Linked DNA regions of Homo sapiens: regions 1, 2, 3, 4, 5 and 6 are each linked to region 7. Evidence: promoter capture Hi-C in 16 types of primary human blood cells and fetal thymus (Javierre and others, 2016). All regions are on one chromosome and are shown on one strand. The core of a region is centred on a gene start or on the middle of the fragment in contact, and the rest is flanking DNA. Distances in the headings are between cores, read along the strand shown.

Evidence for each region. The method cuts DNA at HindIII sites, captures the fragments that hold promoters and counts their contacts. A CHiCAGO score of 5 or more calls a contact.
Region 1: a fragment that was not itself captured here is called in contact with the fragment with the promoter of OSTC in region 7 in 1 of 17 cell types (total B cells); the score reaches 7.7 in total B cells.
Region 2: a fragment that was not itself captured here is called in contact with the fragment with the promoter of OSTC in region 7 in 2 of 17 cell types (naive CD4 T cells and total CD4 T cells); the score reaches 5.8 in naive CD4 T cells.
Region 3: a fragment that was not itself captured here is called in contact with the fragment with the promoter of OSTC in region 7 in 5 of 17 cell types (fetal thymus, naive CD4 T cells, total CD4 T cells and 2 more); the score reaches 11.2 in fetal thymus.
Region 4: a contact is called between a fragment that was not itself captured here and the fragment with the promoter of OSTC in region 7, in 1 of 17 cell types (monocytes). The highest score is 5.0, in monocytes.
Region 5: a fragment that was not itself captured here is called in contact with the fragment with the promoter of OSTC in region 7 in 1 of 17 cell types (fetal thymus); the score reaches 7.4 in fetal thymus.
Region 6: a contact is called between a fragment that was not itself captured here and the fragment with the promoter of OSTC in region 7, in 1 of 17 cell types (total CD8 T cells). The highest score is 6.7, in total CD8 T cells.

The regions. Positions count from the first base shown.
Region 1 is chr4:107,713,976-107,718,010 of GRCh38, reverse strand. All of the region lies in intron 1 of PAPSS1 (3'-phosphoadenosine 5'-phosphosulfate synthase 1), which reads left to right. Among named protein-coding and RNA genes, the nearest start is that of PAPSS1, 4.2 kb to the left of the region's middle. The HindIII fragment of the contact is 722 bases long and covers 1,982-2,703 here.
Region 2 is chr4:107,971,451-107,975,213 of GRCh38, reverse strand. The region is part of intron 1 of LOC107986298 (a long non-coding RNA gene); the gene reads left to right. Among named protein-coding and RNA genes, the nearest start is that of HADH, 17 kb to the left of the region's middle. The HindIII fragment of the contact is 8,609 bases long and covers 1-3,763 here.
Region 3 is chr4:108,053,439-108,057,398 of GRCh38, reverse strand. All of the region lies in intron 11 of LEF1 (lymphoid enhancer binding factor 1), which reads left to right. Among named protein-coding and RNA genes, the nearest start is that of HADH, 66 kb to the right of the region's middle. RefSeq lists an enhancer at 423-924. The HindIII fragment of the contact is 706 bases long and covers 1,524-2,229 here.
Region 4 is chr4:109,442,634-109,446,614 of GRCh38, reverse strand. All of the region lies in intron 1 of SEC24B (SEC24 homolog B, COPII component), which reads right to left. Among named protein-coding and RNA genes, the nearest start is that of SEC24B-AS1, 11 kb to the right of the region's middle. The HindIII fragment of the contact is 4,493 bases long and covers 1-3,981 here.
Region 5 is chr4:109,404,112-109,407,964 of GRCh38, reverse strand. No RefSeq gene overlaps it. Among named protein-coding and RNA genes, the nearest start is that of SEC24B, 28 kb to the left of the region's middle. The HindIII fragment of the contact is 488 bases long and covers 2,211-2,698 here.
Region 6 is chr4:109,509,231-109,513,513 of GRCh38, reverse strand. It overlaps SEC24B (SEC24 homolog B, COPII component), which reads right to left. Exons shown (of 24, transcript NM_006323.5): 8 at 3,403-3,505; 9 at 1,431-1,557. Among named protein-coding and RNA genes, the nearest start is that of MIR576, 23 kb to the right of the region's middle. The HindIII fragment of the contact is 864 bases long and covers 2,583-3,446 here.
Region 7 is chr4:108,648,091-108,651,934 of GRCh38, reverse strand. OSTC (oligosaccharyltransferase complex non-catalytic subunit) reads right to left here and starts at 1,336. Exons shown (of 4, transcript NM_021227.4): 1 at 1,141-1,336. The coding sequence starts at 1,279. RefSeq lists enhancers at 383-432, 1,047-1,396. The HindIII fragment of the contact is 4,127 bases long and covers 1-3,380 here.

The DNA.
Region 1 (4,035 bases), core at 1,093-3,592, 930 kb after region 7:
TTTAAATGAATTAATAGATTTGAAGCCTGCCTGGCACATGAGCACTATTTATGTTCTTGTTAATTCATCCAGTGTGAGGGGCTGAAGGGCTGGGGTAAGGTGGCAGTGGGACTAGAGGAGTAGCTGCATTAAAAACATTTAAGGAAGAGTTGAGAGGACCGACTAGATTTAGGGGATGAAAAAGGGAGGAATGTTAGAAGATGATCCTGAAGTTTTGGTCTGGGAAGTGGGGAGAAAGGTTGTTACCTGTGTGGAAATTGGGAAGTAGGTTGGGCACGGGGGTAAGGGTGATATTAGTTAAACACAAAGGAGAGTTTAGTGTGTGCCAGGAACAGTTTGAAATGTTTTACCTATATTAGCCCATTGAGTTTTTGTTACATTTCTGAGGGTGAATATTATGAGAGACAGTGGTTAAAAGCAGGACCCTGGAGCTGACTGCCTGGGCTGAAATCTGGACTCCACTATTTATTAACTATGTAACTTTTGGTTGGTCACTTAATTTCTCTATGCCTCTATGTGCTTATCTATAAAATGAGAATGATAGCCTCACAGGGATATTGTGACAATTAGAGTTAGCTCTTACTGTTATCATCCTCTATTACAATTAGCATTTGCATTTTATAGATGACAAAACTGAGGCACAGAGATGTCATGGAGCTTGTTAGTGCTGGACCCATTTTAAACCTGTTGCATTTGAGGGACAGCCTTAGTAGAGATAGTCTATAGAGGAAATATGAGCCATGTATATAATTCAACATTTACTAGATACCACATTAAAAAGTAAAAAGTAACCGCGAAATAAATTTCAATAATATATTTAACCTACTATATCCCAAATGCTATCATTTCAGTGTTTTTTCAATGTTAATATAAGTTCAACACTATCATAATTAATAAAGAGTTATAGAAATCTGGAGTTTTTTTTTTTTACAGTTAGTACACATTTCACTTCATACTATCCACTTTTCAAATAGTAGGGACATGTGGATAACATAGTTACAGAAATTGAGTTGTGCTGAGGTTGGAAGTAAAGGTTTCATAGTTAAATTTGAGTTAAAGAATATAAGGAAAGTAAATGTGAGACCAAATACTAAGCTTTGGATAATAGCTCCTGTTAAGGATTAGGTAAAGGAAGTGTACTCGTGGGAGACAATAGGCAAAGAGATGGGAAAATGTAGTCTTACAGCTCTGGGAAATGGTTAGAATTACAGGAAGTTAAAGTTGTCCATATACCTGTGGGAATAGTAAAGAAAAACCAAGAAATTGACTTGCTCTTGGAGCTGCCTCTTACTTCAGTCTGATAAAGCGTCAGATATAATGAATATCATTTTCTATCCAATTGAATCTTTCTCCAATGGGACCAGTTTTCATCTGCCCTTGGGGATGTGTTAGTTGGGCTGAGGGAAATTTGGGACACTCAGTTCAGGCCCAGGTGTCATTCACCCATTTTGTAGAATCATATTGGGCTGAAACCCTGTTGGACCTGCCTTACAGTGGAGTAGTGTCCTAAAAGAAGCGTTTGAAACTGGACGTGACATTAAGAAGCATATGCAGTCTCTGGTTTGCTTTTCCATTCACCTTTCACAACTCCCTGAATTTCCATAGCTCCAGCCCAACTTTCTGTCCATATCATACATCCTCATGGTTTTACACAAGCCTTTCCTTCTCCCTGGGATGCCTGTTACCCTTTGTCAGGGGCTGAAATGTTTAGAGCCTTGGACCATTTTACCTTAACAAATGTGTGGCCCTCATAGGTACATATGTTCACTTGCTCGTGGGCTGAATTGTTTGTGCTCTTCTGCATTATGTTGCATTCTCTCTGCTATTATGTATCTTGTGATCATACTTCATTATAGATGTTTTGTATCTACACTGAGCTTTTCCTGATATAACAGAATTGGGGATAAGGGGCAGATGCAAAGTAGCTCGGTAGCTCTGATATTGAAATCCTTAGATAATTCATTAGTATCTTACAAAAGCTTAAGTAACGGAATAAGCTCCATATGTGGGAGGATTCAGATTACGGTTTTGTCACTTACCATCTGGGTGATCTTGGGAACATTATTTAACTCCTTCATCTCTCAATATCCTCATCTGTAATGAGATAATAAAACATAACTCATAGTGAGGCTAATGGTGCATACCATATGGGGTTATAGTGAGGTTTAAAGAAGTTAATATATTTATAAAACTATGGTTCCTGGCACATGAGTACTATTCTTGTTCTAATTATTTATTAGCTCCTCAAATATTTAACACTTAAACTTTGTATGTGCCTTTGTTCCAGGTCCTGAGGATGCAGTGGTAAAAAGACAGAAAAGTGTCCTGTTTCATGGATATTACATTCTACCTGGGAGACAGTTAATTAAACCAAATAAATGAATGAAATAATTTTCCCTTTTACCAATTCTATCTTTCCCAAACAGCTTGTCTCCTTATATGTGGATGTTTTTCGTAGAAGGCCAGCAGCACATTCTGGATTTAGCTGAATACTCAGATGATACAAAAATGAAATAAGAACAGAGAAGTGGAACAGACAGCCAAACAAGAGGCCAATGTACTTGTCCTTCAGAGGATTGGCCTGGGTGTGGTCAGGGGCAGGCATTGGTCTTTTATTTCCCCCATCCCCAGGTTTAACAGAGAATTGATCTTTCTACCCTGGGAAGATGATACTAAAAAAATTGCCTGATGAAAAGGGAAGCTTAAACTTCTACCAATAACAGCAATAAGACGAATGATAGTGAGGTCTAGATCTGTGTTGTCCGGTTCACGATCCACTTGTGGCAACTGAAATTTAATGAACATTAAGAAAGTAAAAAATTCTATTTGTTAGTTGCAGTAACCACGTTTCAAGAGCTGCGTATGTGGTTAGTGGCCACAGGAATTGGACAGCACAGTATAGAACATTTTCATCATCTCAGGAAGCTCTATTGGACATTGCAGATCTAGATGAAGCTTTGTGATGGCTGCTATTTTTTTTTTCTACTTATCTGTGTGTTTATGTATTCAGGTATTTTTACTCTGTTCCCAAGAACAGGAAATTTCCAGAGTGAGTGGATACTTTGAAATTTTAGTTTTGGGCAGTTTTGCACCCTGGCTTCTGGTAGCATGTCCAGCAGTATTAGCCTCCCCTTAGCGTAGTTGCTTCTTCAGATTTGAAGTGTCAATATGCTTCCCAGCCTGGGTGTGTTACATTGAATTTTGAGGAGTAGTTCTCTATGCCAGTGGTTCTCAATCGTGAGATTTTACCAGCCCTAGGGGGCATTTGGCAATTCTGGAGACAATTTTGGCTATTCTACTTGCGTATGGAGGGGGATAATTCTTCTAACATCTATTGGAAAAGATTTCTTAAAAAAACCTAAATTTCTAAAAAAAATTCTTAAATCTGAAATGCAAATGTAAAATCCAGTTGAAAAATCCAATTGTTGTGGCATTTTTTTCCCCCATCAGCCTGGAAGTTGCCATTTCTTACTCTGAGATGGATCAGTTACTCATAGCATACCAGTAACAAGACAGGAAAACCCCAATCCTGAATTGTTTTGAAATCAGATTAAGTAATTAGTTCAAATGGAGGGAGTGATTTTTCTTTTTGGTGTTAAGCGGTAGTAGAGAGAATGTTCTCAGGGAGACTATTGCAGTGGCTATAGAGACTTCTGCAGTGGAGTTTTGCCGTAGGGGAGAGAGATTGGGCTCAGTTCCAAATACAGTAAGGAAAAGTGGGAATTTATGGTGAGGGAGCAGGGTGGGGGTCGGTGGATGGAAAATTACTAAGAGGAAACATTAAGAATTAGGGAGTATTCTGACTAAAACGATTTAACAGGGTTCTTGCTGAAGGCAGGCAGGCCAAGGTGATCAGACATCATTGGGGGATGGTGCAGCTTGAAGAGTTTGGTCAGCTATGGAGGATGGGGGATTTCTGCTAAAATTGGACTCTTGAAGACGTGCCCGAGGATAGGGCCCAGTTGAAAGAGGGTTCAGAAGGAGCCTGCCTAGTTTGATCAAGGAGAGAAATCTTGTCGGTGGTAATCGTTTCTG
Region 2 (3,763 bases), core at 61-2,560, 680 kb after region 7:
GTACCTTAAAGAGAGTAATCTGGCAGCTGAGTGAAGTATGCATTAGTTCTCTATTACCCTGTGTATTAGTCTGTTCTCCCGCTGCTATGAAGAAATAATTGAGACTGGGTAATTTATAAAGAAAAGAGGTTTAATTGATTCACAGTTCCAGATGGCTGGGGAGGCCTCAGGAAACTTACAATCATGGCAGAAGGTGAAGGGGAAGCAAGGCGCTTTCCTCACAAGGCAGCAGGAAAGAGAAGTGCCAAGAAAAGGGGGGAAAGCCCCTTATAAAACCATGAGATCTTGTGAGAACTCACTATCATGAGAACAGCATGGGGTAACTGCCCCCATGATTCAGTTACCTCCCACCAGGTCCATCCCATGACACGTGGGGATTATGGGAACTACAGTTCAAGATGAGATTTGGGTGGGGACACAGCCAAACCATATTACTGTGTGACAAATTACCACAGCTTTGTGGTCAAAAAAAGAAAAAAAAAATCTCACACTTTGTTTTGATCAAGGAATCAGGGGTGACTTAGCTGGGTGGCTGTAGCTAATGGTTCTTCATGAAACTATAGTCAAAATGTTGTCTAAGTCTGCAATCATCTAAAGGCTCGACAGGAACAGGAATGTCTGTTTTCGAGATGGCTTGCTCACATATGGTACATGGCTGTTGACAGGATGTACCATATTCTTACTGGCTGTTAGCAGGAGGCCTTGGTGCCTTGTCACGTAAGCATCTCCACAGGGCTGCTTGTGTGTCCTCATGTGACAGCAGCTGGCTTCCCTTGGAGCAAGTGACCCAAAAGAGCAAGGCAGGAACCACAATGTTTTTTTATGACCTAGCTTCAAAAGCTGCACATCATTTCTGCAATAGCCTAGTGGTTATACAAGTCAGTGTTATTCAGTGTGGGAGGGAACCATATAAAGAATCATCAGGGGCCATCTTGGACTCTGGCTACCACACAAGCCCAAGATGGTAAAGAGACTTTTCTGTGTTATTTTTATGTTATTTTCTATGCTGTGTTTTACTTTTCACTTGTAGGTCTATCACCCGTCAGGAATTGTTTTTAAGACATGGTGTGAGATAGGGAGTCAGGGTTCATTTATTCCTTTACTGATAGGCAGTTAATATGCACCATTTATTGAAATTTCCACTCTTTCCCCCAGCATACTGCAGGGGCATCTTTGTGACAAATCAGGTGCTCTTATGTGTGTAGGTCTATTGGTCTATTTGTCTTCGTGCCAGTGCTACCCTGCCTTGCTTATTGTAGTTTTATAAGGAGTCTTGACATCTGCTACCATGATTGTTTTGACTATTCTTGGCCCTTTGCTTTTACAAATAAATTTTATTTAGCGTTGGCCACTTTTTGCAATTATTTCTGCTCAGGCCTAACCCTGGTAAGGTTCTGATTTAATTGGCCTGGGGTGAAATCTAGGCATCAGTATTTTTATCAAACACCCCAAGTGGTTCTAAAATACTGCCATAGATGAGAACCATGGATCTAGAAGAACTCTAGTCTGTGGCAGCAGGGAAAATTAAGGCCCAAGAAAGTTGAGTGCTTACCAAAAGTTACACAGAGAGGCAGTTGCAGAACCAGGGCTCCAGCCCAGGTGCCTTGTTTTCCAGTGCAGTCCTCTTTCCACCATCTATATTTACTCCTGGACATGCCACTGTAGGTAAGTAGCAGAAAGGCAGAGAGGAGAGAGTTACCCAGAGACTTTTTAACTCCTTACATCTGAGAGCTTCAGAGGAAATGGCAGTTGGGGGACAACGGAGACATTAGATTATTAGTTTACAGACACAGCCAAGATGCTCAGCAGGGAGGGTGTAACAATGGAATAATAAAGCTACACAGAGATCTGAGAGATCATCTTTCTAATCTTTGATAGATGAAGAAACAGACCAAAGAGATCACATAGCTAGTTATAAGCAGGGGCAGGACTTGGGTCTGAAGTGTGCCACACTCCTGGTTCAGTCCTCATTGTCCCATCGTTGTCATAGACTGACAGGTTCTTCTTGCCTGCTGCTCAGAAAAACCAATGCACTGAGAACAGCAAGTATTGCAGCAAAGAAAGAGTTTAATTATTGTGGGGCCAGACAAATGAGGGGAATGGGAGAAATTTCTCAAATCTGTCTCTCCAATAATTCAGAGGGTAAAGTTTTTAAGGGTAAATTGGTAGGCAGGTAGTGGGGAAACTGAAACAATTGATTGGCTGAAGATGAAATCACAGAGGTGTCTAAATTGTCTTCACACAGCTAAGTCTTCCCAGGGAAGGGGGAAAGGGTGTTCTCAGAACCAAGTGGTATCTCTTTGTTGAAATGCTAAATCTGAAAAATATCTTAAAGACCAGTTCTTTAGGTTTCACAATAGTTATGTTATCTATAGGAGTAGCTGGGGAGTTACAAATCTTATGACCTCTCATGTGACTTTGGAGCAGAAAGCAATGTATAGAAAAGCAAGCTAAGCAGCAGTAGGTTATTGTTTAACCATGCTTATTCTTTAGCAAGGTTCAAGCCCCAACCATAATTCTAATCTTGTGTTATGAATGCAGCATTAGTCTCCAGCAAGAGGGGATTCAGTTTTCCTTGCTTCAAAGTTTAACTATAAACTAAATTCCCTTCATATTATCTTGGCCTCCATGCTAGAATAAACAACAACAAAAAGAAAGAAAAAAGAGAAAAGAAAAAGAGGAGAGGAAAAGAGAAGAGCCTGTGAGGTTGAGGTTAAAAGCAAGACAGTCAGTCATGTTAGATTTCTCTCATTACTTAACAATTCTGCAAAGGTAGTTTCACTATGTTCAGAGTTATACTGAGGTGCATTTAGGGAAAATTCTTCATCTTAAAGATTTTAACAGTGTTGGCATATACTAACCATTCAACATATTTTTTGAATGAATAAGTGAATAGCTTGAAATTTATGGCTATTTAAAAACAATGCCATTTCATGCAGTAACTCCCACCACAGGCTTGAGTTGTGGTCCCTTAGGAGTTTCTGTCTCCAACTTATCTTTGTGTACCTGGTCAGATGTTTCCTGAGAGGAGCAAGCCTTTATTGTTTTTCCTACAATTACGTTTCTTATTAATAGGGCAGAAAGAATATACAGCATATACAGATATACAGCTAAATGGTATTACATTAATCCCAGGCCCCCAGGGAAAATTATTTAACAACCAATGTAACTTTTTTTTTTTTTGAGATAGAGTCTTGCTCTGTTGCCCAGGCTGGAGTGCAGTGAGCTATCTTGGCTCACTGCAACCTCTGCCTCCTGGGTTCAAGCGATTCTCCTGCCTCAGCCTCCCAAGTAGCTGGGACTACAAGCGTGTAGCACCATGCCCGGCTAATTTTTTTTTTTGTATTTTTAGTAGAGACAGAGTTTCACCATTTTGGCCAGGCTGGTCTCGAACTCCTGACCTCAGGTAATCTGCTCACCTTAGCCTCCCAAAGTGTTGGTATTACAGGCGTGAGCCACTGCACCCAGCCTCCAATGTAACTTTTGCCTTTAAGATTTTTTTCTTTGAGACAGAAAAAAAAATCTTCAAAATTCTTCATCTTAAATATTTTAACAGTGTTTGGCATATACTAACCATTCAACATATTTCTTGAATGAATAAGTGAATAGCTTTACATTTATGTATATTTAAAAATAATACCATTTAACGTAGGTGCTTGAAACAATATGAAGTAAGAATCCTACCTGCGATTGTTTTTGGTAGGTCCTTAAGATTTGGCAGCTTACTCTCAATATATCTCTCTTACTCTCTCTCTCTCTCTCT
Region 3 (3,960 bases), core at 627-3,126, 600 kb after region 7:
AAATTCTGTTCCACAATGTAGTCACCAACATTAAATATCAGTGAGCTGCTGGGTTATGTTTAGTTAGAAAACAAAGCCAGATTCTTAAAAATTAATAAAATTGAAAGGAAATTGGAGGCAGCTGAAGAACTCTTAAGTCTTGTCCAAGTCTCAGGGTAAAAATTAAGGCTTCAACAACTAGAAAGTGAAAAAATGACATCCTGTTTTCCATTCTTTATCTTTTGTAACATATTTAGAAAGCACCTCAGCTAGAATTGTTACCAAACAAGCAAAAGACCCCTGGGGGTTCAGAACTCTTGGGAAGGAAGCCTGCATCTAGGGAGGGGAAGGGGGATGTCAAACTGGGGAGAACCAAGTGTCGCACGGCAGCCAGGGCAACACGTGGCTGCGCAGCTACCCTTGGCCACAGGTCGGCACCTCCTGGGAAAACTTCTGCACCCTGCTCAGCACTGTCCCACACTTGGCCTGCAGTGGTTTTTTTTTTTTTTTTTTGAATAGTGGCCTAGCCCAGTTGGGGGTACCTTGTGCTGCCATTTTACCACAGTGGTGAGGTCCTGTGGAAGCGACTGCTGGCGTGCTGTTTATCTTGCATGGATTGCCAGATCGCTGCATAGGAGGTGGAGGTTGTGGTGGCCCGGAGAGGCTCCCATATGTGTCGTTTCTGGGAATGCTCCAGTCTGAGGTGACGGCCTACCTGTGTCTTCCTTCTTTTTATGCTTGTGTTCAGAAATCCCTGTGACACCTGTCACAGACTAACAGGAAATGTGTACAGGATTCACAAGGTGATGACACTTGACTACAGATAATCTCAGGCTTGGTTTCATTGTCTTAAATAGCAATGGCAGCATAATGACAGTGTGGTTAGACTCAGTTATGCGTGGACTGCAGTTTTTCACATCCTGGCCATTGTTCCAGGATCCCTAGGTGCATTCATGGGAGCCTTTTGATGGCAAGTGCCGGAAACAAATGGTGCTCACTTAAGGAGAAAGGGGAAATGTGTTTTAAGGATATAGGAGCATCTTGTGGAATCCAAGGACAGTAGAGCAGTTGGGCCAAAAAGAAAACTGGAAATTGGAAAGCTGTCCAGACACTTTCCCTGCTGCTTCCATCTGTCCCTCCCTGAAAATCACTTCCTCCTTCCCTTCCCAGATTGACTCTCTCAGTTCTCTGAGCCTTATGTTTAGAGCACTCAAGCTATATGTTGTTACAATATCATCTCCCAAAGAGACAATAATTCTTTCAAATTCTGTAGAAGCGACTCTGGTTAGCCCAACTTGGGTCAAACTTCCACCCCAATCTATAATCAGCTGTGGCCAGAGGAGAAGGTCACATTGTACAAAATGGCTGTCAGGAGCTCACTGCTCTAACAGTGTTGGAGTTGGGATAATGGAGAGGAGAGCTGGACAGCAGCCCGACAGATGTCCGCTATAGCTCACTAGGAAGCTGATAGTTGGGGTGGTTTTATCTAGACAGCTCTGTGTTAATAAAGAAATTGGGTTGGGTTCATGGGTACAGTGAAAGCTTTTAAGAATGGGCAGTATCCCTTCCATCAATTATCTTTTCTCTCCTTAATGATCAGAAGAGCTAGAATTGTGTTTAAGTTGCCTTGGGGAGCAGAAATAGAGAAATAGACCCTCAGGTAGCAAGACTGATCTGATGCCATTAAAAAATAATAGCAGAGGGAGAGGAGTATATGAGGTTCATTAAAACCCTCTTGAAATGCTTCATGTTTAGTATTGTTCATGAAAACTTACCAAATGGAATTAAGATCAATGCACTAGAATATAGAATAAAAAAGAAGTATTTTGGATAAATTTTGTTTAATAGAACTGTTTGTTACTGAGTTGTGAGGAACTGTGTGGAAATGAGCCCTTCTGGATAATGGAGTTTTTCAGAGAAGCTATATGGTTTACATCTTTAAGTGTCAAAACATGTAATTTTTCAAAGCACTTTTGGATGCAACTCTGTCTTCTTCAGCAGAGTACATTGAAATTGATTTGAATACGAATACCTCATGCCATTATTTTACAGTGAATATTATATATGCCACAAGGAGTATGGTGATTTGTATAATACTATTCTAAATGACCCCAAATAACATGGAATTTTAAGAAACTGCTTTTTAATAATTCTTTTGTGGCTTCCTTTGCTGTTTGGGACTATACCCTGTACCCACAATAATATGTTTCTTCTGATCTGTGTGGATTTAGGAACCAGGAAAATGAAGCTTAATTGAATAATATGTAAATTAAAAGTAAATGGGGTCTGATTTGGGGTATAGAGAAAGGCTAAAATGTGCTATTTTAAGAAAGGCTAAAATGTGCTATTTTTGCACATAAATTTCATGACATTACTGTGATACCTTGAGATAGTTTTAACGTGTTTTTCCTCAGCAGTGTTCTTCATAAATGAAGCTACCATGTTACTGAGAGCCAGATGAGTGGGAAATCCTGCTGCTCATAGCTGTCTGTGACCTTTAGCAAAGTAACTTTATTCTTTTTGACAGAATGAAAGAAAAATTAAAAGCATTAAAAATTAAACTCACTTTTTGGCATAAGGTTTACATCAATCTCTACACTAAATTTTTCTAACTGCCTATATATCGTTTTTGTGAATCTAACTTTTTTTTTGTATTGGGATTAGTTTTTCTCAGCTAGCATCATGCTTTTAGAAGCATTCTGTTTCATAAGAGATATTTTAATTAATTGGCAGAATACCCTGTTGGTCTTAATTTTCTACCAGAAGTTCTGTAATAGTATGAATCTTGCTTGCTGCCCCGAATGTGTCGTGTGAAGTTGGAACAGCAGAAATGGTCCCAACCTGTATGGACCACCTGCCACATTCCAGAGGCTTTAACAGATGCTTCTGCATGTGTTGCCTCCTCTCGTTCTGTAGCAGCCCCATTGTGGGGTGGAGGGGACAGATTTCAGTTCTGTCTGAAGGATGAGAAAATAATCACTTGTCCAGGGCCATGCAGCTGGCGAGTAGCAGCGCTGCGTCTGCAGAGTGAATTACCATCAGCTCTGAGCCCCAGTTCTCCATCCTCTGCTGTTACTGCACTCACTACGCTGCTTCAGGGCGTCTGCCCTGCACTCGCCCGGCTCTGCACATACGTCTCCCACATCCCGCAGCGCACCTGATGAGGTAGAGCAGCTTCTTATCTTCACTTTACAGATGAGGAAACAGGTTTGGTACGTTCAGAGTGCATGCCCGAGATTTCCAGGTGGTAACCGATGGACCCAGGATCCAAACCCAACCCAGGACTGTCAGTCCTTAGAGCCCACACTCTAACCCATACAAGTTATCACCTCCCTGTGCTTAACCAGATGCACAGGTGCACACACAAATGCTGGCATAACTGTGGAAGGGCTTGGTTTGGGTAAACAAAACAAAAAAAGACCAAAGTGTGCCCTGATCCTGTCACCTCATTTGTAGAAGGTGAACTTAACATCTTTAGTGTGAGAGAACGTCTGTTGAGAGAAATGTGGATTGGATAGCGTTTGGAGGTGAGTAGATGAGGGAGGTCTACCTAGCTAGTTATTACCCTCTGGAAGCACTTCAGCTGACAGAACTACAATGGGCTTTTGAGGCTCTCTCCTTCAAAACTTGCTCAAGACCATTTCTCCCATGTTTCCCGTGGTAGGAAGGATCTAGCGGTCATGACCTGCACCAGGAGGTCTGGCCTACCAATAGGACACATGTCCTCACAGAGGAGACAAACACAGAGGGCTAGGCTGATCAGGAAGAGAAACCAGTAGCTACAGAAAAATTCCCCTGGAGTAATTCATTAACGGTCACAGGCTTGTCTCAAAGTCATCTTGACATTGCCAAAGTCTGGTTGAGCTGATGGTAATTCACTCTGAATAGCCACAGGAGAGGAAGCCTTGCCTTGGTAGAACATGAATCCAGGAGTGGCAATGACCCCTTTCCTCCCACCTCCAGCTTCTGGGAATCTTTTTG
Region 4 (3,981 bases), core at 873-3,372, 790 kb before region 7:
TCGTATTTCATTATATCTAAGGTGTGTTTTGATACTGCCACTATTTATCTTCACAGGTGTATTAGGTTCCTGCTGCTACTATAACAAAGTACAACAAAGTCAGTGTTTACAACAACACAAATTTATTCTCTTAGAGTTCTGGAGGTCAGAGGTCCAAAATCAGTTTCACTGGGCTACAAAGTGTCAAGGGACAGGGCTGGTTCCCTTTGGACACTCTGAAGAGACAATCCGTTTCCTTGCCTTTTCCAGCTTCTAGTGGCCACTGGTATTCCTTGGCTTGTGGCCCCTTCCATCTCCAAAGCACATCACTCTAACTTCTGCTTCTGTCTTCACATTTCCTTCGCTGCTGGCTCTGACTTGTCCTGTGTCTCTCTAATAAGAACTGCTGTGATTGTATCAGGCCTACCAAGTTCCAGGAAAACCCCATCTCAAGATCCTTAACTTAATCACTGCTGCAAAGGTTTCAGGGATTAGGACATGGACATAGCTGGGGAACCCATTATTCAGCCTACCACATCAGGTATCAATGGCAGATTCTCACACAACTATATTATGATTTCACTTTATGGAAAGCAAGTTTAGAATTCCACTGATTCTAAAATGCACCCCAATTTCAGAGGTAAAAAATGTAAAAAAAAAAAAAAAAAGCATCTTAGAATAAATTAATTTGATTATTGCACTCCCCAAATTGCCCAATACAATGCCTTACATAAGCATCAAATAATCACTGAAAAACTAAAACAGGCTGGGTGCGGTGGCTCACACCTGTGATCCCAGCACTTTGGGAGGCTGAGGCAGGGGGATTGCTTGAGTCCAGGAGTTTGAGACCAGCCCAGGCAACATAGTAAGACTTCATCTCTACAAACATGAAATAAAAAATTACGCAGGTGTGGTGGTTTGTGCCTGTAGTCCCAGTAACTTGGGAGGCTGAGGTGCTAGGCTTGCTTCAGCCCAGGAGATTGAGGCCGCAGTGAGCCAAGATTGCACCACTGCACTCCAGCCTGGGTGACAGAGTGAGACCCTGTCTCAAAAAAATAAATAAAATAAAATAATAAAAATAACAGGCTGGGTGCCGTGGCTCACGCCTGTAATCCCAGCACTTTGGGAGGCTGAGACGGGCGGATCACGAGGTCAGATCGAGACCATCCTGGCTAACACAGTGAAACACCATCTCTACTAAAAATCCAAAAAAAAAAAAAAAAAATTAGCTGGGCGTGGTGGCGGGCGCCTGTTGTCCCAGCTGCTTGGGAGGCTGAGGCAGGAGAATGGTGTGAAGCTGGGAGGCGGAGCTTGCAGTGAGCCGAGATTGCACCACTGCACTCCAGTCTGGGCGACAGAACAAGACTCCGTCTCAAAAAAAAAAAAAAAAAAACAAAGAAAGAAAGAAAAAACTAAAAAAATGGCCAGACGTGCTTGTAATCCCAGCACTTTGGGAGGCTGAGGCAGCAGACTGCTTGAGTCCAGGAGTTCAAGACCAGCCTGGACAACAGAGTGAAACTCCATCTCTACAAAAATTACATAAAATTAGATAGGTGTAGTGGCGCACACCTGTAGTCCCAGCTACTCAAGAGGCTGAGGTGGGAGGATCACCTGACCCCAGGAGATCGAGGTTGCAGTGAGCAGTGATCGCTCCAGCTTGGGTGACAGAGTGAGACCCTGTGTCAAAACAAAAACAAACAAAACAAAAAAATTCAGTTTTTATATAATCTCTGAAAGAATTTTATATTCTTAGCTTCAAGTGAACTATGTCAAATAAAAGAGGGAAACAGATGATTCTGACACATTATCTACTCACTGGTACCAATCTGAATGAAGAAATAAAATATTTTTAACAAATGGTCTATAATATTTTCAATGGAGCTGCTCAGCTGGTCAGCCTGACTGATATATCATGTGCCAGCAAGATACAGCCTATGATTTTCTATAAGCATGTATGCCCTCCTTAGCAGGACTAAATTATCACAAGATCTACCCCCAGGACATATCTGTCTCAGTAGCATAACCTCCTTTCAGACACCAGATTCTCACCAAAGGAAAACTGATTCTCTTGCTTTAAGAAAACCTAACATGAAAATTAAAATTTATAAAACAAATATTTCATGCAAGTCTAGTCCCTGTACCAAAAAAAAAAAAAAAAAAAAATCACAGGATCTCTTTAGGGCATATGAAATACGATTTGGTTTGAAAAATTCTCTACCTGACTTCCCTTTATTCTACTTTCACTTCCCTCTAATTCATTACTAACACCACCAGAGTACTTTTTAACATTCCTTACCACACAATCTTTAATGGCTCTTCTTTGATCCAAATGAAGTCTAAACTTCTTAGGACAATTTCTAGGAACTTCCATTAGCAGCCCCAACATAATTGTAAAAACTATTCTTTTTTTTTTTTTTTTTTGAGATGGAGTTTAGCTCTTGTTGCCCAGGCGATGGCATGATCACGGTTCACTGCAACCTCCACCTCCCGGGTTCCAACAATTCTCCAGCCACAGCCTCCCAAATAGCTGGGATTACATGCACTCGCCACTACACCCAGCTAGTTTTGTATTTTTAGTAGAGATGGGTTTTTACCACGTTGGCCAGGCTGGTCTCGAACTCCTGACCTCAGGTGATCCACCCACCTCAGCCTCCCAAAGTGCTGGGATTACAGGCATGAGCCACCACACCGGGCCCAAACCATTCTTTCATTACTCTCTCTCCCTTGTACCCCTGCACTGCTCAGAGTACGTTTTTTAAATTCCTTACCTTTGATTCATGCATTTTTACCTGACAATTCAAAATGTGTCCATCATTTTAGATATAGCTGAAGTTCTAACTTCCTCCCTTAAGATTCCCTATTACTTTAACCAAAAAGAATTGTTTCCTCTTCAAAACTCTGGGCACCCTTCTCACAGGCCTTATGAAGGAAACACATGTTCAGTGCTGACAGTCCTCTCCTCTTTTACTGAGGGGTACAGAACTCCTGGAGTGCAGAGAACATTCACATTTGTATGCCCAGAGTATCTAGCACAAAATGTTATGTAAAGAGGAGCTACATAAATATTTGCTAGGAATTGTAAATTAAATTTATAGGCCAGGCATGGTGGTTCATGCCTGTAATCCCAGCACTCTGGGAGGCAGAGGTTGGAGGGTCACTTGAGCCTAGGAGTTTGAGACCATCCCAGGCAACACAGTGAGATCTCGTCTCTAAAATAAAAGTTATATATAACTGTTAGGATTACATATGCATTGCATAAAATAAGGTTCAGGTGTTTAAGATCAAAATTGATGGTAAATGAGATAATCGGAGGGACAAAGTTCTTAAAAGAGAGGGAACAGAATTCTGTACCCAAATAATCTGAATTTGTCTCAGATAACACAAGAATAATATGCAGGAAGACTGACAGATTTGGTGGCAGAAGATTAATACTTTATCTTCAGATTGTCAGATTGCTTTCAATTTCTTAGTAAAATAAGTAAGGTCACCATTGGAAAGGGAGGCAGAGAGACAGGATACTGAGAATTTGAGGGAAAAGGGGAGCATGTGACACTGGGAATGGAGCAGGGAAATACCACAGGACTAACTGGTACTGAGAGCTCACTTAAGAGATATTACCATAAATATAAAGTTGGAGAAACTTCAAGGAAAATAAAGCATCAACATTGGATTATTCTAATATTACAATACAGCCATTTTATAGGGAAAAAAACATTTGACATAAAAAGGTTACCAAACCTAGTAAAAATGTGCAAAATTGATAAATGAGTAATATAAACATACAGGAAAACACAAAAATAAAGCAAGTTACCTGAATAAGATTGTAACAGTCATGATTTCCACCATACTACAATTATTGTTTAAAAAGAAAAAAATGAAGAGAGAAAACAAAAACCACATCTCTAATTTGACTACTCCTGAGATTTCCATAATAGCATGATCATTCCCCCTCCCTGAGACACATTTTAATATTAAAAATAGTTGTTTCATTAATATTTTCCT
Region 5 (3,853 bases), core at 1,205-3,704, 750 kb before region 7:
GGCTAGTCTCAAACTCCTGGGCTCAAGCAATCCTCCGGCCTGGGCCTCCCAAAGTGCTGAGATGACAGGTATCACCCATCACAACCAGCCTTAACCCAGTTCTGAACACACAGTAAATGGTTGAAAGTTATAAGTTATTGAGTTTGTTCTATTGTTATGTTTTAGTGTCCTTTCTAGACTCTAAGTTTATTGAGTGTTAAATCTGTCTCGATGGCAGGGGTCAGCAAACTTTTTCTGTAAAAGACAAGATAGTCAGTATTTTAGGTTTTGCTGGCAAAATATCTCTGTCATATATTCTTTACTCTGTCTGTCCCCTTTCTAAACAATCTTTTAAAATGTAAATTCATCCCCAGCTCACAGGCTGTAGAAAAACAGGCCACATACTAGCTGTGGTTTGCCAACCCCTGCTCTATAGTCCATAGTGCCTGGATCAGTGCTTTTCATGTAGACGTTAACTGAGAAATGTTGTCTGGTTAATTCAACAAGTGATTGCATGATTGAACTCTGTAGAAGTGACTGTGTTTTTTATCTTTTGCAAATGACTCCCTTTGCTCCTTTTCGCCTTGCACCATTCTAAGTCCTGAATATTTCCAGTGAGTCTGATTCTATGAACAAACTGGCTGAAGCCCCTAAAGCATGGGGCTGTGGGTGAGTTGTCCCTTCTACACAATGCTTCCTCTCTGGGTTGTCAGTTTGTTTCTGTTCCAATCTAGCCAGGGAGTTGTATGCTGAGTCAGGGAGCATAAATTATTCTGGGACAAAAAGTGGTGTGACTATTAGAACAATGTTAAATACTGTATTATTGCATTTAGATGGCAGCTCTTTATGTTTCTCCATGAATGTGTAAAATCCTTGCTCACACCCTGATTTTAATTGATGTCTGACAAATCCAGACTTACTGTGGCAAAAAAAATGACAATGTTAATATTAGCATAATTTTTCTCTTTGCTAACTGGATTTACATATCAACTCCTGGGATAGCATACATTATTTTTTTCTTTGTGCCTTGATTTAATCACAACAGCAACAATTACCTCTATTAGGCCTCTTTCTATAGATATATAGGAATATGGATGAGGATGAATGGCTTACTCTGAGAATTATTATTACTAAAATCTAAGCATTGGCTTTGCTTCCCTTACAAAGTATACATTAGGAAATAATTAGTATTACATAGTAAATTTGAAGCACAGACTTATATGTATCTTCACACTTATTTTAAAATACTTCTCTTTTATCTTTTCACAATGACTGTGAGGCTGATTATTGTTCTTATATTAGGTGAAATCTGTAACTTCACATGTTGGCTCACCAGAGCAATATTAAGAGAGATAATCATCAGCAATATCCACACAAATTGCATTCCTTAAAGCAAACCAATTGCTTTGAAGGTAAGCGAAATGATTCTTCACGGAGAAGTACCAAAATGTCCACTATGTGGTGCTGCTGTACCTGAATTACACAAGGAGGGTAAAACAGTACACTGTACCCTGAATTACACAAAAGAAGGTAAAGAAGTACACTGTACCCTTAATTACACAAAAGAGGGTAAAGAAGCACAAAGTAATAATAATTTCACCCACAAATTCATTATCATCATTGTTCAAGCAATTGTTATTGGGAAGACAAAGAAGAAAATATGTGATACTGAAATTATTACTATATGATGTAAAAGAAGCTATTTTTTTTCAACTTTGTTTCATATATGGAGAGAAAATTATCTTAGGAGAGAAGCTAATAAGTCAATGTGGGTGTTAATTTTTTGGAAAAACAATCAGAAAGAATACATAAACGGAAATTTTAGGGCATGCAAAAATTATAAATAAAGTCTGTGTGCATCTATATATACATACACACACACACATACACATAGAGAGAGAGACTTTAGCCAATGCTATATTTTAACAATGTTGAAAAACTTTTGGCTAAAATAACAATTATTAATCTGGGAATTTCATAAAAATTTTTTAGCAATCAGAATTTTACCAAATATTTTTCAGAATTTTTTCTGTAGCAATCAGAATTCTGTAGCAAGCCAAGTCATAAAAGAAAAAGAAAACCTTAATTTTGATTTCGACTCAAAATTCAAGCCCTATTTATTTTACTTTCAGGCCTATGGAGTAGCAATAGTTGCCAAAATACTAAACATAAGCTGTAAATTTTATGGACCATGCTTTCATTTACTTTTTAGGATTGAGATGTTGGAAGCTTTAGAATGTTGATTATGATGATACCCAAGACTCAAGTTTAAGAAGGAAAGGAAGCAATAAGATCATGCCTGCTATTAGTATAGTCGTCACAGTTATTGTGTAAAGGTAATGTGAAACAATGCAGAATATTTATGTTTTAACAGTTTCCATTTTATGCGACCTGTGGGGAATGAGAGTTATCCAAACTATATAGGCTGTGCCCCTCTTCCCTCCGAAGCAGCGAAGCCCGCGATGAGAACATTACTGCTGCTCTGGTACTTCCCTCTTATGGAACAAATTTGCAAAGTCTGTGGCAGTGATTCATAGTTCAGGAAAGACACACCTTTCAGAAGCAAAGATGAAGAAAGAAGGATGTTATATGTTTAGTCTTTGCTATTTTTACTCTCTGGTTTTCAGTTAAATTGTGACTTACAATTATTTGGTTATGGTGACCCATTAATTCACCAAACAGAAGCCCTATTTGAGTCAAAGAATCCTGTTTCCAAGCTTAAAAGAAAATGAATCTGTATGTTCTTATACTTTCCCTGTAATATGTTCTGTCATTTTACTAATGCTGAAAGTCTATCCAATAGACCTGGACTCATCACAAATAAAAATTTAGAGTTTCACAGAAATGGGTAAAGAGCAATTAGTATTTTCATTAAGAACTAACAAATATAAAGATCAAATTAGGGTTTTTTTTTCTTGGCCCTTGTTTATAATATGCACTAAAAATTACTATTGTACTTAGGAAGTATTTTTAATATTGAAGTTGACCTAAATTGTACTGAAATACTTGAACCTTCTGGTTGGGTCATATGGTATGGACTGTGTGCCACATAAAAATGCCTTTTATGTATTAATTGTGCCTATATTTCTTTAGCATCTGCCTCTCTCATTGGACTATAGACACCACAAAGACTGTTTTATGTCAACAGTGTCTATATAAATAGGTGCTTAAAATTTTTTGTAGAATCAACTGGCAAATGAATAAATGATGATAAACATTGCTGAATTAAATAAATGAAATATAAGCCAGGGCTAAATTCAACCTTAGTAAACAAATTTGTGAACTGTGAGCCATCCAGACTATTCCTAAGACTGAGTGTAGAAGTCCACTGGTAGGAGACTTCTACCAGTTTACATTTAAGATCTTAAGGAACTTACCATCTTGGTTGTTTCCTAAACTTTCTAGATCCTTAACTTCTACTGCAGAATACAGTTTTTAGCTTTCTTGCTTTCTTTTCTTTCTTTCTTTCTTTCTCTTTCTTTCTTTCTTTCTTTCTTTCTTTCTTTCTTTCTTTCTTTCTTTCTTTCCTTCTTTCTTCTTTCTTTCTTTCCTTCCTTCCTTCCTTCTTTCCTTCCTTCCTTCTTTCCCTCCTTCCTTCTCTCTCTTTCTTCCTTCTCTTTCTTTCTTTCTTTCTTTCTTTCTTTCTTTCTTTCTTTCTTTCTTTCTTTCTTTCTTTCCTCTCTCTCTCTCTCTTTCTCTCCTTCCTTCCTTCTTTCTTTTTTTTTTTCTGGAGTCTCACTCTGTCACCCAGGCTGGAGTGCAGTGGTGAGATCTTGGCTCATTGCAATCTCCGTCTCCCGGGTTCAAGCAATTCTCCTGCCTCAGCCTCCTGGGTAGCTGGGATTACAGGCGTGTGCCACAATGCCTGGCTAAT
Region 6 (4,283 bases), core at 1,765-4,264, 860 kb before region 7:
TCAGGAGTTTGAGAACAGCCTGACCAACATGGTGAAACCTCGTCTCTACTAAAAAAACAAAAATTAGCCAGGCATAGTGGTGTGCGCCTGTAATCCCAGCTACTCAGGAGGCTGAGGCAGGAGAATTGCTTGAACCTGGGAGGCAGAGGTTGCAGTGAGCTGAGATTACACCACTGCACTCCAGCCTAGGCGACAGAGTGAGACTCTGTCTCCGAAAAAAAAAAAAAATAATAATCAGGGGGCCAGGCGCAGTGGCTCACACCTATAATCCCAGCATTTTGGGAGGCTGAGGCGGGGAAGATCACGAGGTCAGGAGTTCGAGACCAGCCTGGCCAATATGGTAAAACCCCATCTCTACTAAAAATACAAAAATTAGCCAGACATGGTGGCAGACACCTGTAGTCCCAGCTACTCGGGAGGCTGAGGCAGAAGAATTGCTTGAACCCGGGAGGTGGAGGTTGCAGTGAGCTGAGATCGCACCACTGCACTCCAACCTGGGTGACAGAGTGAGACTCCATCTCCAAAAAAAAAAAAAAAAAAAAGATCAGGCTTAGGTGCAGTGGCTCATGTCTGTAATCCCAGCTCTTGGGTTGGGAGGCTGAGGTGGATGGATCATTTGAGCCCAGGAGTTCAGGATTAGCCTGGCCAACATAGCGAGACCCCATTTCTACCAAAAATACAAAAATTAGCCAGGTGTGGTGGTGCAAGCCTGTAGTCTCAGCTACTTGGGAGGCTGAGGCATGAGAAAAACTTATAGCTTGAACCTGGAAAGCAGAGATTGCAGTGAGCCATATTGTGCAACTGCACTCCAGCCTGGGTGACAGAGCGAGACCCTGTCTCAAAAAAAAAATTAAAAAAAAAAAATAGATCAGAAGGATAAAAAAACTTATGTTCTGAAATCAGGTGAGAAAACCAGGATGCAAGTAACCTTCCTTCTTAGACTTGTATCCTATTTATTATATCAAATGACATGGAAAAAAATCAGACAGAGAAACATAAATTTGAAAGCAACTCTAGTAGGGGAACCCGAAGAAATGAATAAAGGGAACAAGAGACAGACATATATACATGCATGCATCCAGATACACTGGCAAAGTTCTACCTGAGTTGAATGAACCAAATATACAAATGTAAGACAATCTTACTGTCAGGGACAAGCATAACTAGTCTGCATAAGCTCACCTGCATGAGTGTCACTGTTTCTATTTTTCTTACTTTGTCCTCACTGTTACTCTCCTCATTGTCAATTATCCCCTTGGTCAGCCAAAATGAAGAATCCCTAGTCCTAGCCTTAGCCTATATTCCCTCTACTAAAAATGGCATGAAAATTCTTTTTAAAGCAATGAAGAGAGAAACCAGGAGATGACAAAAATCTCAAAAAAAAAAACCTGAAAATAGGATTAAAACACAATTAAGAATCTAAAACTCACCATCGTTTACTCTATAGCACAAATTGCATTTCCATCTACGTTGATCAATGAAGGATACAAAGGGGTTAATATACGTTCGACAGGATCGGCACCTCACAATGGTATTTGATGTTATCACTGGTAATTGCTAGGAAATAAAATAAAGAAGCTGTAGCAGAAAAAGGCACCCCAAGGAAAAACAGAACGTACACAGATCTGCTCCAAATACAGAACATAAACCTTAATTGTTTTTATGTGGTTTTATATGGAAGCATATTAATAAAATCCAGGGACATGTTGAGCAACACATGTAGCCATCAAGTTTTCTCCCTCTTGTCACAAATCATAACACTAAAATAAAGTCATAACAAACATTGGCCAAGAAAATAATGTAAGTGAGATCTTATCAGTTTAACTTTAGAAATAACAGTGAGAGAGAAACATACCATATACAAATACCTTTGTCTTTGTTGACTGCACGTGGTACTAGACTATTAGGCACTGCTCATTAGACTGCCACAGCAACTTCTGACAGGAGCTGAGGCCAGAAGCAGTCAAACACAACGTGCCTTTAAAAAAAATTACATCTCTATGCTTAGTTTGGGAAATGAATTTTATATTCAAGTAGAAACTTTAGAAAATATGAAAAAAGATTAAGAGATCACATATTATTCTATGTCTCTGAATTAACCTGCTATCATTTTAGTATATCATTCTGTTTTTTTCTATCTGCACATGAACATTTTGATCTTTGTATTTAATTTTTTCACATATATGATTATTATTATGCAAGTAACCACATATCTGTTGTAAAAAAAAATCAGGAAATATAGTTAACTGAGAATGAGAAAATAAAAAATTACAGAACTCTATATCACAGAAGATGTCACTGTAAACAATTTAGTATACATGCTTCCAGAAGGTATCATGTATATCTGTATTTAGAGAAAAACTCTCTCATATATATACATATATATAGTATACAATTTCATATATATATGAAATTAACTGTCTTGGTTTATAGATAAGGTTTTCAGAGTATTATAGGTGATTAAAAATATTTACCCAATGAATAAATTCACGGTACTTATCACATATTACAATTTTTTATTTTCTATTCATTTTGATCTTTTCTATACTTCCTGGTAGTAAAGTAAGCTTCACAAGGAAGCTTTTAATTTACCCTTTGTATCTCCAGCTTCCAACGTGACAGGTAGTCAATCAATATTTTTTGGATGAATGACAGCAAAAGAAAACTCAGAACCAGTAAGAAGGGTAGTAAACAACAGTAGTAAAAAAAAGTTTGAGACAGAAATGCAACTTATGAAGTACAAATAAAACAGCCCTGAATAAAATTATTTTTGAAGTTTTCAAAATTTAAAACTTTTAAAACTTTACAAGTTTAAAAATCCCTACTGTTACAAAGGTTATTTGTTGAATTAACAAATTTGTTTAATTTGTTAAGGAACAGGCAGTTTTCCTCTCTAAGTGGACATCACTGTTGGTGTTTCCTTTGTGTTTAATAAAGAACTCCGAAAGTGTATCTACCTTCCAGGGCCATTCCACCTTCCAAAACTACTAATCTTTCAAAATCCAGGACAGACTTCAACACTTATAGAAAACTTTTGCTATTGTATCCACAGGGAATCACTTCTCATACTGTACTCACTACCTAAGTATCTCATAGAATTTGATTAATTACATGTATTAATTATCCTGCACTGTAATTATTTTTACATCTTTGTTCCCTGTTAGATAAGAACTTTTTGGAGGCAACTTCAATGACTTGATCATCTCTGTACTACCAGTGCTTAGTTTAGAGCTTGTCACAAAGCAGGTGTTCAAAAAATGTTTGCCAAGTTGTTATGGAAATGATTATTTCTAACTTCAAATAAAAGAAGATATAGAAAATTCTAAGAAAATATAAAATTTAAGTACCTTGTACATAAGCATACATGTCAGTACCCATAAATATTATAAAATGTTACTTTACCGTTAGGTCTCTGAAGGGATGTAACAACAATCCTAAAGGAAGCTTAGCTTTATTCAGTAAAGCCTGTGTCTGTGGAATATTTGTCAAAGTACACCGAAATGAACTGCAAAAAACATAAACAACATGGAGGATATTAGCTATCAGAGAAAAATACACTGAAGTAGATAAGATAACTAAGAACATTTAAGGACATAAGTGAAAATCATTTGGGCATGTTACTGTAACTGTAAGCAAGAAGGTCCTGATTAATTAGGCATGTATGCAATATATGTCAAAAAATCTAAATTAAAGAGTCAACACTTTCATGGTGGAAAAATAGTACACATTCAGGGAAGACCAACTACTCCATTATGACTAGCCTGAAGGAGATGAATAGGAGCACACAGAAAACATAAGTGAAAAGGCCTACTTTTTTTTTTTTTTTTTTTTTTTTCTGAGATGGAGTCTTGCTCTGTCGCCCAGGCTGGAGTGCAGCAGCCCGATCTCGGCTCACTGCAAGCTCCGCCTCCTGGGTTCACGCCATTCTCCTGCCTCAGCCTCCTGAGTAGCTGGGACTACAGGCGCTTGCCACCATGCCCAGCTAATTTTTTGTATTTTTAGTAGAGACGGGGTTTCACCATGTTAGCCAGGATGGTCTCGATCTCCTGACCTTGTGATCCATCCGCCTGCCTCGGCCTTCCAAAGTGCTAGGATTACAGGCGTGAGCCACTGTGCCTGGCCAAATAACTTATGAAGTTTTAAAGTCAATAAACAAAGAATGAATAAAGGAGATGCCAAAGCAGTAAAAAGCAGAAGTACTGAAAGCCAGGCAAGAAATTTTATGAAGAGTCGTTAATATCATGTAGAGATATCTATTTATTCCAGCCTTAGTGTTGTTCCTT
Region 7 (3,844 bases), core at 87-2,586:
GAACGTAAGTTAATTCTCACTATTCTAGATTGGGGGAAGGAGGTAAATTCAAAGGTGCTTTCTAGAACTCAGCTCTCTCAGTTTGAATCCTCCCCCTTCAGTGCCAACTATTCTCACAAAACATCTATGAAAATAACAATTATATGGCCACTCCCTTAAAAGTAGAACTACTTTTGCTATCCCAAATCCGTAGCTTTAATTTTATAATTTCCAGGTTAAGTACACCACTTCCCAAAATCTAAATTAATTTTATAATTTCCAAGTTAAGTACACCACTTCCCCAAATCTAAATGTACACAGTAGCACAGTTCTAAGTAAATCTTGGAACTGTGGCCTGAAAGGGTAGTGGCTCTGAAAAGACTAGCCGGATTGCCAACTCACCAGTACATAAGGCAACGCCCCTTTGCAATTTTCTATTTGAAAAGGACAGAATAAGATGATAGACAATTCAGAAGCGTTTAATAGTAATGCTATTTATCTTATTTTTTTAATTCTCAACTTCTGCCCACTGAAATACAGTATCGTCTGCAAATCTCATCTCCAATCTCAAATATTTATCAAACCTGTGATTTCAGAAAATTCCATTGATATTTATTGTAGGTCATGCAAAAGGCAACACAGAACCCTAGGTTTGAGCCAACAAAACTAAAGATTGTCAAGTCTCTTCCAAGATTCCAGGACAAAGATAAGTTTAAAAGTCCCACAAGCTCTTGACCAACCATGGAAGCGGAGTTGGCCAAATTAGACCTTCCCAGGACCTTTATCAAACAACCAACCATGGAAACGGAGTTTGCCAAATTAGGCTTTCCCAGGACATTTATCAAACAACGTATGGCAAGCAACAAAAAGAGCAACAATTTGGCCTTGAAAAATATATTTGACTCGGATCCCTGGGATGGGAGGGCTAGAAGGAGAAGAAAGGCAATGGGAGTGAGAACACGAATTCTCTTAAGACAGGGCGTGAAGGCGAATAAACTTGGACGTTAACACTTCGGACCCCAGAACTCCCCTCCACCCTCAGAAAAGATCCAAAGCAGAGCTATGCTTCCCCCGGGGCTGAGAGTCAGCGGAACAGACGCGCCTCCCGGGGCGGGTCAGTTCTCCGCTCCTCAGCCTCTCGGGCCCGACAGCCCGAGTTACCTCCGGTGATGAGGAAGTAAGACACCACCACCAGAGCATACACAGTCATGGCCGACGGCATGTGCAACCAGGGCGGCTTCTTCAGCTTCAGGTTGGGACATTCGAGCACTAAGAACGGGACACGGTACAAAGTCTCCATGTTGGTGGCAGCAAGGGCCGTTCTCGGCCTCAAGCCCCACGCGCCTCCCGGAAACAGGCCCGCCCTCCCTAACAAGTGCGCGTGCGCGAGGAAAGGACCCGCAGATCCGTAAAGCTCGGAGGTGGTTACTATACTCATAGAAGAAAATAAGAAACTAAATAAAACAAATAAATGATATGAATAAAGTGTTGTAAATTATTTAATCTAATTAAACTTACATTGTGATAATGTACTCTACATTTTTCTAATGGATATATAGGTGATTTGTGTACCTTCAAGGACCTGCGGGACTTCTAACGTGGCCAAGCCGGAGAAGCGGAGGCCAAGGAATCTAGGTGAGCCCCGCCCACTCGCTGACGCAGGGGATTTGAAAGCTGATTGGACAGGGGGCGCTCCCGGTTCCCAGAGCGGGAGATGAATGGGAACTTTTGGATATAAATGCCTTTTATATTAGAGGTTTTTTCAAGGGTTAGGAAAAGCCGGAGGCTGCTGAGCTTTTACTTCCCGATGTAGTCGTGGTAATAATAAGAATTAATAATAGTTGCTAAAGTAATATGTTACCAATTTTTTTTAAACATCCAGCCTGGATCACAAATGTCAACAGGACATCTCTACAGGGATGCCTTAATGCTGATAGCTTGGCGTGACCATAATACTATTTTGAATAACTCATCCTCTCAACTTTGCTCTTCCCTTGGTCATCTGTATGTCGCTAAAAGGTAAAATCCCTCTGGCCAAAAATCTTAAAGTCGTCTGGATTTCTCTCCTTACTAACCTTCTGCATCCAAAATATTAGTAGGTCTCTTTGGCTGTACTACCAAAATATCTCCAATTCATCTGCCCCTCACCATTCCACCACTGACACCCTAGTGTGAACCACCGCCATCTCTGGTCTGGGCAACATTTACAATCCAAATAGATGAAAATATATGATGGAGAATTAGTCATTAGGGATGGACTAGAAGGTCTAAAAGATTTTTTGTTTTCTGTTTTGCTTTTCTTTTTTATATAATCTTTTAAGACTCTACAAATGTTAACTTCCTTTTGGAGCAAGAGTTAAGAGTCACTGATTACATAAGTCCAGAGCATATTGACACATTATAGAGCCAATGTTTTTATATTTTTTTATTTGCTTGTTACTAAGCCCGTGGTTATTTTTACAGGATGCCATGTATTGGTTCTGCACTTCTAATTAGCTAACAACTCAATTGTTAAGAAATTGCTTGAAGACGGTAATGAAAATACTATCAAAACATTGTAGTATCCAATTCTAAGTACAGTTGAGGCTTGCTGCCCTTACTGTTCATTAGTGAGAGTCTCTCCCAGAGTCATATTGCCTATGTCTTAACGGAGCCACACGAATCTTAGGTTATGTAAAGGCCAATGATAACACCAATAATGAATGCATTTACACCAAAACCAGCGTTTATATGTAGGAAGTTTCTCTGGGCACTGTAAAGCAGAATGTTTCTGAAATTCCCACAGTTTTATAAGTAAGGAACACTTTGGAACAATTAAAATATTTTGCTTTGGTATGAAGAAAAAAATAAAAATAAAACATTTTGCTTTGGAAAAACATAGGGATTAAAGGTTTTTAAATTTCCTTTATAGCTTAAAAAGGAATCTAACATTAATTAACCACTGCTTGGCAGGTACTATGTTAAGTGATTTACATTTGTGCTTATATACTCTTCATGACAATTCTGTTAGGTAAATACTAGTATAACTGCTTTACATATGACAAAAGTGGCTCCTGGGAAGGGAAATAAACTCAAAAAGTGTAGTATAGTCTGTGACTGGATGAGACCTAAAAGGCAATTGCTGTAGAAGTAAATAGATTTAAGACGTTTAAAATGGTATACGTTTATATACTTATCCTTCTTCCTGTGTATACTAGGGACACATAATTTCTACCTACATTGTGGAAAACATATAAATTATTAATATATAATTTTTAAATGAAAAATTAATTTCATAAATAATAAAACTGCCAAGTCAGAACACACTGCATTCATCTATATGTTAAATTATTACTATCACTTTCCAAAAAGTAAGTTTGCTCCAGGAACCAATTCATTATTATTTTTTAACCTCTTAAGCTTTGAAATATTTTTCAACATGAGTTTGTAATATTCTATAAGCCACGTATAAAAGAGACCTTTCATGAGTAAGATATGCATATCTGTTATCATCCATGTCCTAACCCACAATTCCTACAGAAAAATGTTCTATTTAAACATAACATAAACTCTGTAACTGAAAACCAAAGAAATAATGAATATAGCAGTGGGCATTAGAGCATGCCCTTAAATAAACATATAATCAATCATTCAGTGGTTTTCTATTTATAGATGAAGAAGGAAAAATGTTGAGAGAAACACAGTTTACAATATAATATGCAGTAGAGCTGTCATCTTAAGCTACATATAAAAGCAAATGTTAATAATTCTTACTGTGCACAAGCAAATATATATTCAAAGAAGAAAAAAGTGTAAAGATGGTATCTACCAAGCTTTCTGTGTTCATTGTAGAATATTTTAATAAAAAGCCTTGAAGTCAGAAATG